Regions from separate parts of the Homo sapiens genome. Here region 1 is linked to region 2. Evidence: promoter capture Hi-C in 16 types of primary human blood cells and fetal thymus (Javierre and others, 2016). All regions are on one chromosome and are shown on one strand. The core of a region is centred on a gene start or on the middle of the fragment in contact, and the rest is flanking DNA. Distances in the headings are between cores, read along the strand shown.

What was found. The method cuts DNA at HindIII sites, captures the fragments that hold promoters and counts their contacts. A CHiCAGO score of 5 or more calls a contact.
Region 1: a contact is called between the fragment with the promoter of FAM222A here and the fragment with the promoter of PPP1CC in region 2, in 1 of 17 cell types (fetal thymus). The highest score is 5.1, in fetal thymus.

Annotation. Positions count from the first base shown.
Region 1 is chr12:109,711,750-109,715,936 of GRCh38, forward strand. It overlaps FAM222A (family with sequence similarity 222 member A), which reads left to right and starts at 2,076. Exons shown (of 3, transcript NM_032829.3): 1 at 2,076-3,148. RefSeq lists an enhancer at 538-1,101 and silencers at 1,807-2,136, 2,167-2,216. The HindIII fragment of the contact is 3,633 bases long and covers 1,173-4,187 here.
Region 2 is chr12:110,739,995-110,744,362 of GRCh38, forward strand. PPP1CC (protein phosphatase 1 catalytic subunit gamma) reads right to left here and starts at 2,897. Exons shown (of 7, transcript NM_002710.4): 1 at 2,659-2,897. The coding sequence starts at 2,713. RefSeq lists enhancers at 2,622-3,130, 3,892-4,368 and silencers at 2,768-2,827, 2,988-3,127. The HindIII fragment of the contact is 5,862 bases long and covers 1,629-4,368 here.

The sequences.
Region 1 (4,187 bases), core at 826-3,325, 1.0 Mb before region 2:
GCTCTGGACTTTGGTTCTGTCATTTGTGTGACCTTGGGTAAGTCATGTGGCCTTCCTCTGCTGTAGGATGTGCATAGTGATCGTATATACCTTATAGGGTTTCTGCGAGGGTAAAAGGAGTTATGTGAGATAAATAGCAGTGAGCCCATGCCTGACACACAGTAGGTGTGAAGTCATGGTGACCTACAATGAAAAAAATCCCAAACTTTTGACAGGCTGTGGTGCGAACTGCTGCCTTCTTCTCCTCTTCGCGATCTCTCTCATTTCCCAGGGTTTGCTTGTTACTGTCCCTCGCCCTGTCCTCAGCTGAAGTCTGGTCTCCCCACCTGTCCACACGCTGGGTCCACCCATCCAGTCGCCCCGGCCGCCCTCCCTGACGTCCCCGCAGCCCTGGCTGCTGGCCCGAGCGGGAAGCAGCTGGAGGCATAACACATTTCCAGGTAAATCCCCACCCCCACCTTCAGCCTGGGGAGGGAAGGGGAGGAGATGGGGGCGGCCGCGGAGAAATAGAGCGGAGCTGCTGGGAACAGCGCGCCGAGCAGCCGCTTAGAGGCCTGAAACAGGGCCAGCTCCTGTCCTAGATAAGGCGGCGGGTGACCCACTTGGGCCGGCCCTGGAGGTCCGCCGCGGGCGCCTCTCCCGGCGGGGTGGGTTGGCTCCTGGAAGTAGGCTAGGGCCCGTCTATAATCAGCCCGTCCGCTGGATACGCTCCCCAGGGTCTCCAAAGCCCTCCAGCCCGGGTGAGTACAGAGGGCATTTATTGAGCACTTAATGTGTGTTTTGAGTCCTTTACATGCAAGAATTCATTTTGCCCTCAAATCTACGCTGTAAGGTAGGAATTATGATGCCCCCCATTTCACAGACAAGAAACTGAGGCGCAGACCCGTGAAGGTAAATGGCCAAGACCAACAACCAGCAAGGGCAGGGCTGCAATCCCACCCAGTTTCGGTGGGACTCCAGGTATCACACGGGCATAGCCTGAGGGGTGGGGGGTCTGACTGCTGCTCTGCATTTCTGTGGGGATCTTTGTTATTATCCCGGAAAGCTGGCTTCCTACAGTGCTGTGTGATGGACACACAGCAACTGAGGGAACTGCCCCACCCAGGACTCAATTTCCCCATCTGTAAATGAGACTGCTAGACGGGCCGCCCATGGGCTGTGAGAACCCAGGAAGCTTCTTTAAAAGTAAAAGGGAAAGCACAGTATAGTTTGATAGATTCATATTTGAACCCCAGGTTGATGTGAAACTATGCCTCAGTTTCCCTATCTATTAAGTGGGGGAGTAGGCTAGTGCCTGTCTCCTGTGGGCGTGGGGTACGTCTAGAAGGTGTAGCTTGCAAATTGCTCAGCGCTGTGCTGGGTTATATAGTTAGCGCTCCACAGATCACAACTGTGATGCCAAAAACACATCGCTGCCAAAAATAAGCCTTAGGACAAAAACATCCAGGACCATGTCACTTCACATCTCCTTACCTCAGTTTCCTCTGTAAGTTGGAAGTATAATAATAGTACCTACCGTATCAGTTTTCTCATCTGTAAAATGGGGGTGATAGTAATACCCACTCACACGGTGTTGTGAGGATTAGATAAAATACTTTGCTACATAAGTGTTAGCTATAGTTGTTATTTTTAACAAATTCCTCATGAGGTTGGTTTTTGCCAAGATTAAATGAAATAATGCCGATAATGCACTTATACAGTGCCTTGTCCCAAATATGTGATCAGTAAATGACACTGGTTTTGCCACCCCTAGTGGGACTACAAAAACCAGCACGCCCTGCGCCCCCAGTCGGGGCCCCTCCACCCGGCGCCGGCGCGCAGCATGCCGGGAGTTGCAGTCCTCGCGAGGCAAGTTCCGCCTCGTCCCTGCTTGGGGGAGGAGGTTGGAGAGCCGCCCTGCCGGCCTTTGAATTTTGCCGCGAAAAGCGCGCGTGGCGGCCCCCGGCTCCGCCCCTCGCAGGACGCGGTGCCGCGTCACCCTGGTAACCGCCTCTCAGCCGCCGCTGATTGGGCTGGGCCGCGGGGGGCGGGCGGGGGACGAGACGCGGGGGCTGCTGCCGGCGCTCGCGCCTGTCAGTCGGGCCAGAGCGGAGCAGCGGGCAGGACTGCCTGGCCGGCTGCTCCGCGGAGAGGCTGCGCGCGCCGGCCGGGGGAGGCGGACAGCCGGGCCCGGCGCCTGTGGGGCGCGGCGCGCGGCACCCGGGCCTGAGACCAGGCGAGGCGCCGGCGCGCGCCAGACGGCGCGAGGCTGCGGCCCCGGGAGCCCCCGCGCGCCGCCCGGGGCCATGGGCGCGTGAGAGCCCAGCGCGCGCGGCCCCTGCTGCGGCTTGCGAGCTCGCACACCCGGTGCACAGTCCCCCGGGCCGTCCTCGTGTCCGTCCTGCGCCACTGGGATCGGCTGTTTCTCAGCGCCGAGGCCCCCGAGGCTGCATCCGAGCTTGCGTCGCCCGCTGCCGCCGCCGCCGCCGCTGCCGCCGCCGCTGTTCGCCGGCTTCCCCTCCCCCCACACCCGGGGCTCAGAGCAGGAGGAGGAGGGGCCGGTGCATTCTCGCCGCTGTTCTTTGCAACCTGCAGGGGCCGGTGTATGTCCGGCGAGGAGCCGGGGCCGCTGCGGGTGCGTGCAACCCCCGAAGGAGACAATCCCTCCACCTCGGGGCGAACCCGGGGGCTGCAAGCCGCGGGCGGGCGGGCGAGCGAGAGGAAGCAACAAAGACAGGCTGCAGCTGGGGCTGGCGAAAGGGGCCGCGGCCGCCGGGCTCCCAGCGCGGGCGGAGAGGGCGCCCTGGGAGCGGCGCGGGCCGAGCTGCAGCCTTGAGCGGGGCCCCGAGGGGAGGCGCAGCGCCGCCCGCCGGACGTGGCGATCACGGGCCCCGGCGAAGATGCGTCGCCTGAGCGCCCGCGCGGCCCCCGTCCGGGGCGGGCGTGACCCCTGCTGAACGGAGACCTCCCCTCCCCCCCGACTTCGGACGGCGCAGGCCGGCGCCAGGATAGCCCTCACCGACAGCGCCCCTTCCCACCCGGAGAGAGGCATCGACCCCCAAGGAGGGCTTCGTCAGGCAGCCTCTGCCACTCCTGCATGGCTGCGACCCGTCGAGCGGAGCGTCGTGGTAGCTGAGACCTGGTGCCCTTCGACGGCCTGGCTGATCCGGTGAGTTGTGCGGGGCGGGGTTCTGCGCTGGAGCTGGGGGCACCCCCTGGCGTCCGGGCAGCCAGGATTGGACAGAAGGGGTCCTAGGCTGTTGGGGGTCCTGAAGCAGAGATAACCCTTGTCCGCCCCTTTCCTCCCTCCAAACACAACTTGTTCAGATGGGCCAGCCGATGGGAGTGGAGGTTGGGGGGCCCATTCGGATTCCGCGGGACCCTGGGCGGGTTGGTTGCCAGAGAGGAAAGGTCACCCCACCCGTAAAGCTAACAAAGGTATTGGCTGTGTCATCCGAAAATTCCCCGGGAACTCCAGTGTCTTGGAAGGGCTGGGGGGTGGGGGGCACCCAGGATGGGAAAACGTTGAGGGTCTCCCGAGCAGCCTCTGAGATCTTCAAGGGAAATCACCTCAGAGGGGGATTTGGGGTTCCAGAAACGCAGGTGGCCACGTTTGAGAATTGTGCCCCATGGGGCTAGACCTTAGAGCCCTCGTTCAAACCACGTTCCCACAAATAACTCGCAGGGACGGTAGGTTCCCCAGTGGGGGCACGACATGACGTCAAACCTTAGCCTCTGATGTCACTGGGGTTGCCGTGGCAACACCACTTGCCTTGACCCAAGGCCGGAGGGGGCGGGGTCGTGGTAACAAGGGGCGGGGCTGGATGCCTTTGGGTAGTGGAGGGGTGAAGGCGGACTCCCCCCACCCCTACCATTGCAGTCCTCTGACCTAAATCCTTAGCGCCCCATAAGGTGGGGGAGGGAGGCAGTGCCAGCTGTCCCTGTTGATGCTCCTCCCCGCAAGGACAGGTGTTCAGAGCTTTGCCCATGTAGCCTGGCCTGTGCCTCGGGGCTCAGGCCTCCCAGACAGAGCAACTTTCTGTTTTGAAAAGAGATGCTATAGAAGAGACCTCCCTGAACCCCACCATGTACCCAGCTGGCAGGCTGAAGTTCCCAGGGTCCCCAGAGAGATGTGGGCCTCCGGCCCTCCAATAGGCTACTTCTGCTGGGGAAAATGTGGGTGCCCCTCCCCCAGCCAAGGAAGGTGC
Region 2 (4,368 bases), core at 1,647-4,146:
CAGAGGTGATGCCTCGCTTACAGAAATACTCAGAGTTCAGAGAAGAAAAGAACTGCAAAGGTTAGTGACTAAGATCTAAACCAACATGCTGTTTTTCTTAAGACTTCACTTTTCAGTTAGCTTTTTAGTACTATTACTCAGCTACTTCTCAACTAGGTTATACTGCTCGCAAGCTTAAAAGATCAATTCTAAACACGTAAAAAAATCTGGCCAAAGTCACAAGTCATATTCCCTCTACTTTCAGATATACTTACATCTTATTTAGGGAAAAAAAAGGTTTTGGGGGCATTATGAAAAGAATAAAATTTAGGCCGGGCACGGTGGCTCATGACTATAACCCCAGCACCTGGGGAGGACGAGGTGCGAGGACTGCTTGAAACCAGGAGTTTGAGAACAGCCTGGGCAACACAGTGAGACTCTCATTTCTATTTTAAATTATTAAATTTAATTTTTTTAAATAAAAAATTGTAAAACAGAATTTATTACCAACATCATTTAACTTAGATATCTACATATCCTCAATGGATCATCTTCAACTGTTTCTCTGCCAATTTAACACCCACGAGAAAAAAAGAAATTTAAGTATACTTTGCAGTTAGCCTATTCCCAAGGCATTAAAATGCACTGCTTTATTAATTTCAGCAAAAAATGAAATATAAGAAAACCTGGTTTTCAAGTGCCACATAACAAGAGGAACTATTAAGAAACAATGATCTCATTTTAGATGTATCATTACTTACCAGGCAAAGTACTTATTACAATTTTAAAGATCAAAATTAACAAAAGCTGTTTATGAATAGAGGCAGTTATGGGCAAACCAGAACTTAAATTAGCAAGCCTTAGATGATCTTAAAATTCTAATGTTTCTAATCCATGCAAATTCCAACTTTTCCTGTTTCCTCAGAGAAATAAAGCCACACATATCCCTGCAGAGATAAGCAGAATTTTAAAATTTAGAAAGAAAATATTTAACAAAAAGTTCCTTTCTTACAGCAAACTATTTTAATCAGTTTCTGACCAACTGCTGCCTCGAATAAATTAAAGAACTATATTAACTAGTATGAAAAAGTATGGTTCTTATATAAATACCTGGCATTAAAAGAATGACAAGGTTTTCACCTACAATACAAGGTTTTCACCTGCAATAACATTTCAAGAGCATTTCAGGGGTCCTTAATGACATTTAGTGTTTTTTTTGTTGTTTTTTTTTTAAAGACAGCATAAAAGGAAAGAATGCACAGATTAAGAAAAGGACGAGATATTTTCAGGAGCTTCATTTTAATAACTTACTTTAAAAGATCTGTAAATTCTAACACCAGAGCTGTCCAACTGTTCATGCCCTCGACTCCACCACTCACAGCATTTATAGTCCAACAATATTTTAGGACTGTATAAAGGCAAAAAGCAGTTGAAACTGCCAAGTTCCCATTATGAAGTGTCCAAGTTAGGGGATATGACTGAATTCTTACAAAGTCTTGGATAAGATGTTAGCATCCGTTGACATGCCCTTGAATCTGAAAGCAGCTCATTTCAGCTTCCGTCTTTAAAAGCTGAACCTCGCCCCTCTCCCACATCAACATGAATCAATTGCCAGGCACCTCACAAGTCTTAGATGAGCCGAAATTTAAAGCTTTCTATTAACCTTTACTTAACCACTGGCCACCTTCCTTCCTACATAAGGTGACAGTGTTGTCTGTAGAGGGTTCTAGCTCCCGGCTATGTGGATTTGAAATCCAACTGTCACTAACTGTGTGACCTTGGTTAAGTGACTTCATCTCAGTTTCTTCTGTAAAATAACAAAAACAAAAAAAATTGCAAATATCTTGCAATGGGTGGGAGAATTAAATGAAATCTGTCTTAAGTGCTCAAAGAATGCCTGACACACAGTAAGCGCTTTAGAAGCGTCAGTTATGATTACAGTAATAATTCATGGACGCAAAGTGCTTAAGACAGAGCCTGGCACATTGGAAAGATAATGATAGCGTCAGCCTCGTTGGCTTCCTCTTCAGATGCACGCTCAGGAAAAGAGCGCGGAGACCTCTCCAAGATTAGAACAACTTAAAAGGATTTGGAGGGCAGGCGAAGACAGGTTCTCACACCTCTTGAGACATGAACGCTTGTTACCAAGTAACAAGAAATGGGCCCCCCAAGACCCCAGAACCACGAAAAATAAAAATAAAAGCAAGCAGGAAAAGAGCCCCCAAACCCGGCGGAACTCATGCCCTCATCAAACTGCCTTCCGAGAGGACGAGCACCGAAAAGTCCATCTCGCACAGCACGGCACACGTCGTCCAGGAGGCTGGACTGGGATCCCCAACCATCGCTCCAAAGACCCGTCCAGTGCGCGGGGGCAAACGGGTAGGGGCGGGAAACGTGGGGGTGGGGAGCGGAGTTTTCAAATTCCACGGCCGGGAGGAAGCCTGCATCCTCGTGCAATGAATGAGCGGAGCCTGGAGGGTCCGCAGCTGGCGACAAGTTGGGAATCCCGGGCTGGCCTCCCTCCGGCTGCAGTCCCCGGCCCGTGGGCCAACTCGAGGAGCTCACTCCCCACGGTGCTGCAAGCCCAACCGGCCTCCCAACTCCCCTCCCTCGAGCCCCCGGGGCCGCCTGCCGCCCTCAGGCCCGCCTCCCCCTTCAGCCGCCCGCCGCCCCCCTTACCTTCCAGCAGCCGTTGGATAATGCTGTCGATGTTGAGTTTATCTAAATCCGCCATCGCCTTCCCACCGCCGACCCTCCCGCAGCGGCGCCGCCGCCGGCTCGCGCCCGGGACTCACACCTCCTTTCCCACGCCACGAGCAGAGGCGGTGGTGGCGGCGGTGGCAGCAGCCGCGGCGGGTCCCCCCCCTGCCACCCCGCTCCCTACTTCCTCCTTCTCTCCCCACTGGAACCACGAGAAGAACAAAATGGCCGCCGACTCCTTAGACAGCCTCGGGCGGCGCACGGATGCGCGCGGGGAGTGCAGCGGCCCGGCCGGGACTTCTTTATGGGCCATAGGGGGCGCGGGAGGGGGCGGGGCCCGGGCGCTGGAGGGGGCGGGGCCCGGGCGCTGGGCGGGGCGCAGATGGCTGAGCGCAACCGCGTCCCCGCATGGGATCCTTCCGCCAAACGGGCCGAGTAAATAGGCCCGCCCCCAATGCCGGGCCCGAGCGAGAGTTGCAAAGTTGCACGCGGGAGTTGGGGCTGGGGGAGGAAATGCAGCTGTGCACACCGCCGGTTGCGGCCATCGCCGGATCTTGTGCATTGAGTCTAGATGTTTGCAGACCTGGACAGGTGGGAGCTCACCGAGGGATTTCGGGGGTCCTGGAACTTACCCTTTAAGATAAATCTGGGGTGAGGATGGAAAAGAATAATAAAGAAAAGAAGGTTGACTTATTTTGGATTCAGATATACTGGAACTTGGGACAAGAGAAAGGTTTATTTGGTAACTAAAAAGAAAAAACCCTCTTTCAGATAAGTCAAAATGTAACAGTTAACTCATTGTGAGTGGTGGGTATATGGGTATTTGTATATATATTTTTTGTGCACTTCTGTAACTTTAGGGGTAAAAAATCCATACTCAAAGAAAATTTTATCATTTCTGTCCCTTGGATTTATCTTCCCTGAACTCGGAAAGTTATGTAATCATCGGGACGGTTATCCCGATTCTAGCCAGGGCAAAGTTGAACGAGCGCGTGCAGCAGTTAAAAGGGGAATTTGCAGATTTCACGCGTGCAGGCCGGGGGCGGGAAGAGAAGATGCAAGCTGCGCGGGCGGTCCTGGGTTCTGCAGACACCCGAAGAAACTTTGGCCCATTCCTCTCTGGCTTCCCAGCCTCCCCGAGGGCACTCCTATCCAAGGGGCCCCCAAACTGTGCCACCTCCAGGGGCTGCGCGTCGACTTTGGCTGGGTTTGGAAGTACAGCCCACACTCAGCAAACAGATCGGCTCTCTTTCCTGACCTTTCCATGTACGTTGCTTCCTGCAGCGCTTTACATTTTGCAAAGCCCCCTCTCTCCGAGAAATTCATTTTGTTTCCCAAGGCGTGCAGGATGCACGAATCCCCATCTCAGTATGCCACGAGGTAATTGCACCACCCAGGCATCCTCTTCCAAAGCAATGTCCTCAGGGTGCGGGCTCCATGTCCCCTTACTTGGGCCCCCTCGCTACTGGTGCAGGGCCCTTGAGTTTCAGAACTCAGCCTATCGATCCACTTTCCTCAGGCACTAACTCACTTTCCCCTGCTACAGCTCTGTCCACCAGAAGTCACATAAGTGCCATTTGTCAGGCCAAGGCAATGAGCCCAGTTGGTGACATTCGGAGTTGGTGCCCAGCGCTGCTGTGAACATCTGGCTATGGAGGTCAGGGGGGGCTCTTGCTGGAGTCCACAGGA